Linked DNA regions of Homo sapiens: region 2 is linked to region 1. Evidence: promoter capture Hi-C in 16 types of primary human blood cells and fetal thymus (Javierre and others, 2016). All regions are on one chromosome and are shown on one strand. Each heading gives the region's core, a stretch centred on a gene start or on the middle of the fragment in contact. The rest is flanking DNA. Distances are from core to core; before and after follow the strand shown.

Region 1 (3,388 bases), core at 491-2,990:
AAAGAAAAGCTCACATTCTGGGCCTCCACACTAAGACAGAGCTCATTTCACCTGGGAAGATGGGAGTGATAGGCTTTGAGTTCCACAGTCTGTTTCCAGCAGCAGTAGCAGCAGTCATGTGTCAGGAGACATTTATAGGAGCCCTAAGAATGTTCTGTACCGCTACTTCAGGAAGCAAAACCAGGCAGGCTGCACTTCTGCCCTCTTGGAGCTCATGGGCTGATTATATAGAGACACATATTCTAGTCTTTCTGCTATAATGCAGATTGCATTAGGAACTATAAAGGGGTACAGAGTATTTTAGGGGTACTGTCTTGATTTGCTTGGGCTGCTGTAACAAAATACCATAGACTGGGTAAGTCAAAAACAGAAATTTCTCTCACAGCTCTGGAGGCTGGAAGCCCAAGATCAAGGTGCTAGCCAGTTTGGTTCCTGTTAAGTGTATGTTGGGCGCCTTACATTTTACAAAGCCTTCTTCGTGGTTGCAGACAGCTACATTCTTGCTGTATCCTCAAATAGTAAACACAGAGATCATTTTTCTGACATCTCTTTTTATAAGGACATGAATCCCATTATGACGGCTCCACTTTCAGGACCTAATTACTTCCCAAAGGCCTTACCTCCTAATACTATCACACTGGGGATTAGGCTTCAACATATGAATTTTGAGGGTACACAAACATTTAGTCCACAGCAGGTACCAGCTGTGGTTGGCCAGGAAAGTCAGGACAGTGTGGTCTAGGAGGGCAAGGGGTGCTGTCAGGGAAGACACTTTGGACAAAGAGGGTGGAGGAGCAAAGGCCAGTGAGTCACCGCCTGTTTGAGGACCAGTAAGGACTCGGAATGGCTATGGCCTAGATAGTGTTGGGAAGGGCAATGATCGTGTGAAAGGTAGTAGAAGATAGGTTGGGGCCAAATCATGTGAGGACTGAAAGAGATTGGGGAAAGACTGGGCTTCCTACAGCCTGCTTGGTAGATAATAAGAACACTGACAGAACAGCAGCTGATTGTGTATGTTGGGCGCTTTACATTTTTTTACAAAGCACTTCCAGTCCTTCTTCCACTCTGCCCTCACAATTTCTAGCATACAGGCAAGAGTGATAAGTTTAGGATCAGGAGCCTGGTATCCACTTAGTCAGGAAACAAGTTGTGTAGATTCGAACAAGTCACTTCCCATCTCCAAGGCTTTACTCATCTCTAACCACAGGGGCCAATTCTCAGAGCTTTCGGAAGGATTTCACAAAACCATACACATAACAGTGCTATATCTAACTTCTGGTCCTCAGTTCTTTCTCTGTTAAATGAGGACAATTCCTGTCCAGCCTAATTCAGAGGGTCTGTGGCTGTGATTCTGTAAGCAAAGGTCAATGGTGAGAATCTTCTTAACGGGCCAGTGAGAAGTTTGTTCCCCTTTTGGCAGATGAGGCCAGGAAAGTTAGTGCTTCTTGGTTGGTGGCTGAAAGCCTCAGAGAAGGAACTTTGGATTCTTTAACGGTATCTCTTAGTACTCGCCACACTATTTCGTTTATACGGGGAAGAGAGGGACAGACAGCGCACAAGCGACAGACAGCGCAAAACCTACCGAAATAGAAAGAGCCAGGCGCCATAACAGACGGCCCGAGACAGGCCCACTTAAAGGACCAGAACTTCTCGTGCCCCGCCCCCCTCTCTCAAGGCCATCAATCAGACAGCGAGGCGCGCCGTGACGCCATCTTATCGCGACTAAACGGAGTGGCGGCGGCATTTCCTGGTGTCTGAGCCTGGCGCGGAGGCTATGGGCAGCCAGGAGGTGCTGGGCCACGCGGCCCGGCTGGCCTCCTCCGGTCTCCTCCTGCAGGTACTCTCTGCCCTTCAGGTTCCAGCTTGTACTGCAGCCGGGATTCGCGGGATGGCAGCCCTTGGGCCCTTGAGAGCCTGCCCCAGGGCCGACCCAGTCCCGAGGTGGACCCCGCAATGGAGGGGGTGGGGGGGTCGACCGGAGACGGTGGCATTGATGAGGGGGGACCCTGGCCCGGAGATAGGAGCCTGCCTTTAGAGTCTAGGCCGGGTGACTGCAGACAAGCCGCTTTCCTTCTGAGCATTCTATTTCCCATATGGCAGTAGGAGTGAATTAGATCAGGTGGCGGGGGTGAGGGACTGGTATTTCGTGCTCGAGAATCTGATATTTTTCAGGCAAGGGGTTCATTTCCTTCATCAAACACCTTCCTCAAACTTTGAGTCCCACTGAGTTCCGAGAGTCCATATGGCATAGCTAAGAAGAGAAATCTGGAGTTAGGCTTGGATTGCTCCGTGACCCAGGACAAGTGACTTCACCTGCAGAGCCTGAGTTCCTCACTAGTAAAATGGGGGTAATAATATGTCGTACTTAGCTCATAAGCAGGGATTGATTGGGATCATTCAAATAAACGTACTTAACACAGTACCCGGCTCTTAGTATGCATTTAATACATGTTGGCTGCATCTTCTGTTTATGTGATCTTGGACAAGTCACTTCCCTTCTTGGCCCTAATTTTTGTCATCTGTCAGGTATGATACAGGCCAGTTAGTCCAAATGGTATCTGAAGATTCTTTCAACCCCAGGAGCTGAACCTCTTAAGTCAAGTGGCTCAGTATCTCTCTGTCTCACTCTTGAGCCAATCAACCCTACTTCACACAAGTCCCGAATCTACCCTACCCCTTATCTTAGAGAGGCACATGGAGGGCAGAAGAAAGAACCAAGCAGAATGGGGCTTGAGTTTGGGCCTTGTCACTTGCTAGATGCCTGCCTTCGGGATAAATCCGATGACTTCTGTATCAGTTTCTTCATCTTAAATGAGAATCATAGTGCAACCTCACAGGGTCATTAGGAAGATTAGATGAAATCATGCCTCTTAAGTGCCTGGCACACTACAAGTACTTAATAAATGTAGCTATTTTTATTAGGGTAATAAGTATTTTTAAAATAGTCAATGTAGGAATGAAATGAGATAACCTATGGAAAGCATGTTGAAGAGTGCCTTGCACGTGATATGTGCTTAGTAAATGTTAGCCATTCTAAGTTTACCTAGGGATTTTTTTTTTCTGTTTCACTACATAAATAACTGAGTTTATTGTTTTATCCACAATGTTGGTTTTTTTTCAGCCTTTGATAATATCTTACTACTCAGATAGGCTTCATAAAACGAAAACAAGTTATAACGGAAAACACACTGGACTACGAGTCAGGTGGCTTACCTGTAAGGTCAAGCTGGGTCATTTACTTGCCGTGTGACAGTGAGGAAATCACTTAACCCTCAGTCTTGCTTCCTGTGCATTTACCTCGTTGTTTTTAGTGTCAAATAATTTAACAGATGTGAGAGAGCCTTTTTGTTAAAACTGTAAAGTTGGCTGGACGCGGTGGCTCATGCCT
Region 2 (3,388 bases), core at 356-2,855, 81 kb before region 1:
GAAAGATTCTAAATCCAAGACATTTCTGGTCCCAAGTGTTTTGGATAAGGGATACTCAATCTGTATTACATTTATCTCATTCATTCAGACTGTTTGACTTGCCAATTTAAATCAACATAAACAGAGTCTTCCACTTAACAGTTCGTTTGAATTCATCTGATGGCCAGTAAGCACATGAAGAGATGTTCAACATCACTAGTCATTAGGGAAATGCAAATCAAAACCATAAGATACTACTTCACACTCACTAGGATGGCTTTAATTTTATTTATTTATTTATTTTGCGACAGGGTTTCACTCCTGTCACCCAGGCTGGAGTGCAGTGGAGCGATCTCAGCTCACTGCAACCTGTGCCTCCAGGGTTCAAGTGATTCTCCTGCCTCAGCCTCCCCAGGTAGCTGAGACTACCGGCACAGGCCACTGTGCCCAGCTAATTTTTGTATTTTTTGTAGAGACGGGCTTTCACCATGTTGCCCAGGCTGGTCTTGAACTCCTGAGCTCAAGCAATCCACCTGCCTCAGCCTCCCAAAGTTCTGAGATTATAGGAATGAGCCACCATGCCCGGCAGGATGGCTCTAATTTTTTAAAAAAACAACGGAAAGTAACAAGTGTTAGCGAGGATGTGGAGAAACTGGAACCTGTGTACATTGAAGAAATGTAAAATATAAATGAAAAAGGCTGCACCCGCTGTGGAAAACCGTGTTGCAGTTCCTCAAAAAGTTAAATATAGAATTACCATATGACCTAGCAATTCCACTGCTAGGAATATACCCAAATGAACTGAAAGCAGGAACTTAAATAGGTCCACAGCAGCATCATTCACAATAACCAAAAGGTGAAAGCAATCCAGGAGTCCATCAACGGGTAAACAAAACGTGGTACATACACACAAGGGGATATTATTCAGCCTTAAAGAGGGAAGAAATTCTGGCACATATTACAAAGATAAGCCTCAAAGACATTGCACTAAGTGAAATAAGCCAGCCACGAAAGACATATACTCTGTGATTTCACTTATCTGAAGTACCTAGAATAGTCAAATCATAGAGACAGAAAGTAGAATGTTGGTTGCCAAGGTCATGGGGAGGGGAGAATAGAGAATTATTATCTAATACAGTTTCAGTTTGGGAATATGAAAAGTTCTGGAGGATGAATGGTAGTTGATAGAGTTTGGATATTTGCCCCCTCCAAATCTCATGTCAAATTGGAATCTCCAGTGTTGGAGGTGGGGCCTGTTGGGAGGTGTTCGGGTCATGGAGGCAGATCCCTCATGAATGGCCTGGGCCATCCCCTTGTTGATGAGTGAGCTCACACTCTGAGTTCACAGGAAATCTAGTCATTTAAAAGTGTGTGGCCCTCTCCTCACCCCACACAGGCTCTCTTGGCTCCTGCTCTGGCCATGTGATGTGCCTGCTCCCACTTTGCCTTCCACTGTGATTGTAAGCTTCCTGAGGCCTCCCCAGAAGCAGATCCAGGTACCATGCCTCCTGTGTAGCCTGCAGAACTGTAAGCCAATTAAACCTCTTTTTTTATAAATTACATTGCCCAGTCTCATTGCCATTTCTTTCTTTTTTTCTTTTTTCTTTTTGAGCCAAGGTCTTGTTCTGTCATCCAGGCTCGAGTGCAGTGGTGTGATCATGGCTCACTGCAGCTTCGACCTCCACAGCTCAAGTGATCCTCCCACCTCAGCCTCCCGAGTAGCTGGGACTATAGGTGTGTGTCACCATGCCCAGTTAATTTCTGTATTTTTTGTAGAGATAAGCTTTTGCCATGTTGCCCAGACTGGTCTTGAACTCCTGGGCTCAAATGATCCTCCTGCCTCAGCCTCCCGAAGTGCTAGGATTGGTTGCACCATGAAATATACTTAATGCCACTGAATTGTACACTTACAAATGTTTAAAATGGTAAATTTTATATTTTGTACATTTTACCTCACAAAAAATTCATTTGAAATTATTTGGAATCAAAATTTTTTATTCTTTCATATATATATATATATATATATATATATATATATATATATATAAAATCATACATGAACTTGCATAGAACAAGTGGTTGTTGAGTGAATGAACAAATATTTGTTAAATTTCAGCTAACCAAAGCTAACTTCATTAATTTAGTCCCTAACTATGTCTGAAAAGACTGAAGAGACTTTTAATTTCACCTTTGCAGAAGAGGAACTTTTTCTTTTCCAACTTTATATTGAATAATTTCCATTGCCAAAGTCCTGTGCTGAGGGGAACGCAAAAATGAACACGCCCTAGTTCATGTCCTCTAGGCCAGCAATTCCCCAAGCCTGGCTCATGAACAGAATGGGGAATCTTTTTTTTTTTTTTTTTTTTTTTTTTTTGTAGATGGAGTCTCACTGTGTTGACCAGACTGGAGTGCAGTGGTATGATCTTGGCTCACTGCAACCTCTGCCTCCTGGGTTCAAGTGATTCTCCTGCCTCAGCCTCCCGAGTAGCTGGAATTACAGGTGCCCGCCACCATGCCTGGCTAATTTTTGTATTTTTAGTAGAAGACAGGGTTTCACCATGTTGGCCAGGCTGGTCTCAAACTCCTGACCTCAAGTGATCCACCGCCTTGGCCTCCCAAAGTGCTGGGATTACAGGCATGAGCCACCATGCCCGGCCAGAATGGGGAATCTCCACATGTCGCAAGTCCTAGGTCCAAGACAAAACCTTTCTGTGGCTTTCTTTAGCATAGAAAAGACAGGCTGAAATTCTCAAAAAACGGTTTACTAAACCAAAAGAAAACAAACAAAGAAAATAAACTTACAGAGTACCCAAAGTACAACATTAATCAGACTTTCCACCAATTTCTAAACTTCCCAAACCAAAACAGTGTCTTTCTGTTCACATCTCGCATAAACCTGAAAAATCTGCATGTAAGCCTAAAGCGGAGTCTCAATTTCCAAGGCTACATTGAAACTGCCTTTGCAGAAATTATATCAGCGAGAAAATCATGAAGGCAAAATTTGATCTAACCAACTCCATCTTGCTTTTAACCTCCAAACTGCCCTTGGTCATTCCTGGGCATGGGACTCGCTAACCTTGGGAGAAATTTGGTTTGTGGTTTAAATGATAATCGCCCTTCCCAAAACTAAACCACCTTTGTAAAACTAATGAAAGGCCACCAAGTTAGGAGGATGAAAGGGGCCTGGATTCTGCTAAGAATAGTATTACGTTGGTACAAAAATAATTGTGGTTTTTGCAGTTAAAAGTAATGGCAAAAACCGCAATTACTTTTGCACCAACCTACTAATTAAATGATTACCAGCCATTATTCTAGAGGCCACAAGATTTAAAACTTCCTCCAGTTACTCCTGTACATAACATCACCATTGTAAAACCCCAAATTGGCCCTTTGAGATATCTTTTCAGGC

The links. Contacts are between HindIII fragments. The CHiCAGO score rates a contact against its expected background, and 5 or more counts as called.
Region 2: a fragment that was not itself captured here is called in contact with the fragment with the promoter of RFT1 in region 1 in 7 of 17 cell types (M1 macrophages, M0 macrophages, M2 macrophages and 4 more); the score reaches 9.9 in M1 macrophages.

The regions. Positions count from the first base shown.
Region 1 is chr3:53,128,787-53,132,174 of GRCh38, reverse strand. It overlaps RFT1 (RFT1 glycolipid translocator homolog), which reads left to right and starts at 1,740. Exons shown (of 13, transcript NM_052859.4): 1 at 1,740-1,837. The coding sequence starts at 1,775. RefSeq lists enhancers at 1,335-1,384, 1,395-1,594, 1,635-1,684, 1,695-1,884. The HindIII fragment of the contact is 8,425 bases long and covers 1-3,388 here.
Region 2 is chr3:53,209,839-53,213,226 of GRCh38, reverse strand. No RefSeq gene overlaps it. Among named protein-coding and RNA genes, the nearest start is that of TKT, 44 kb to the left of the region's middle. The HindIII fragment of the contact is 318 bases long and covers 1,447-1,764 here.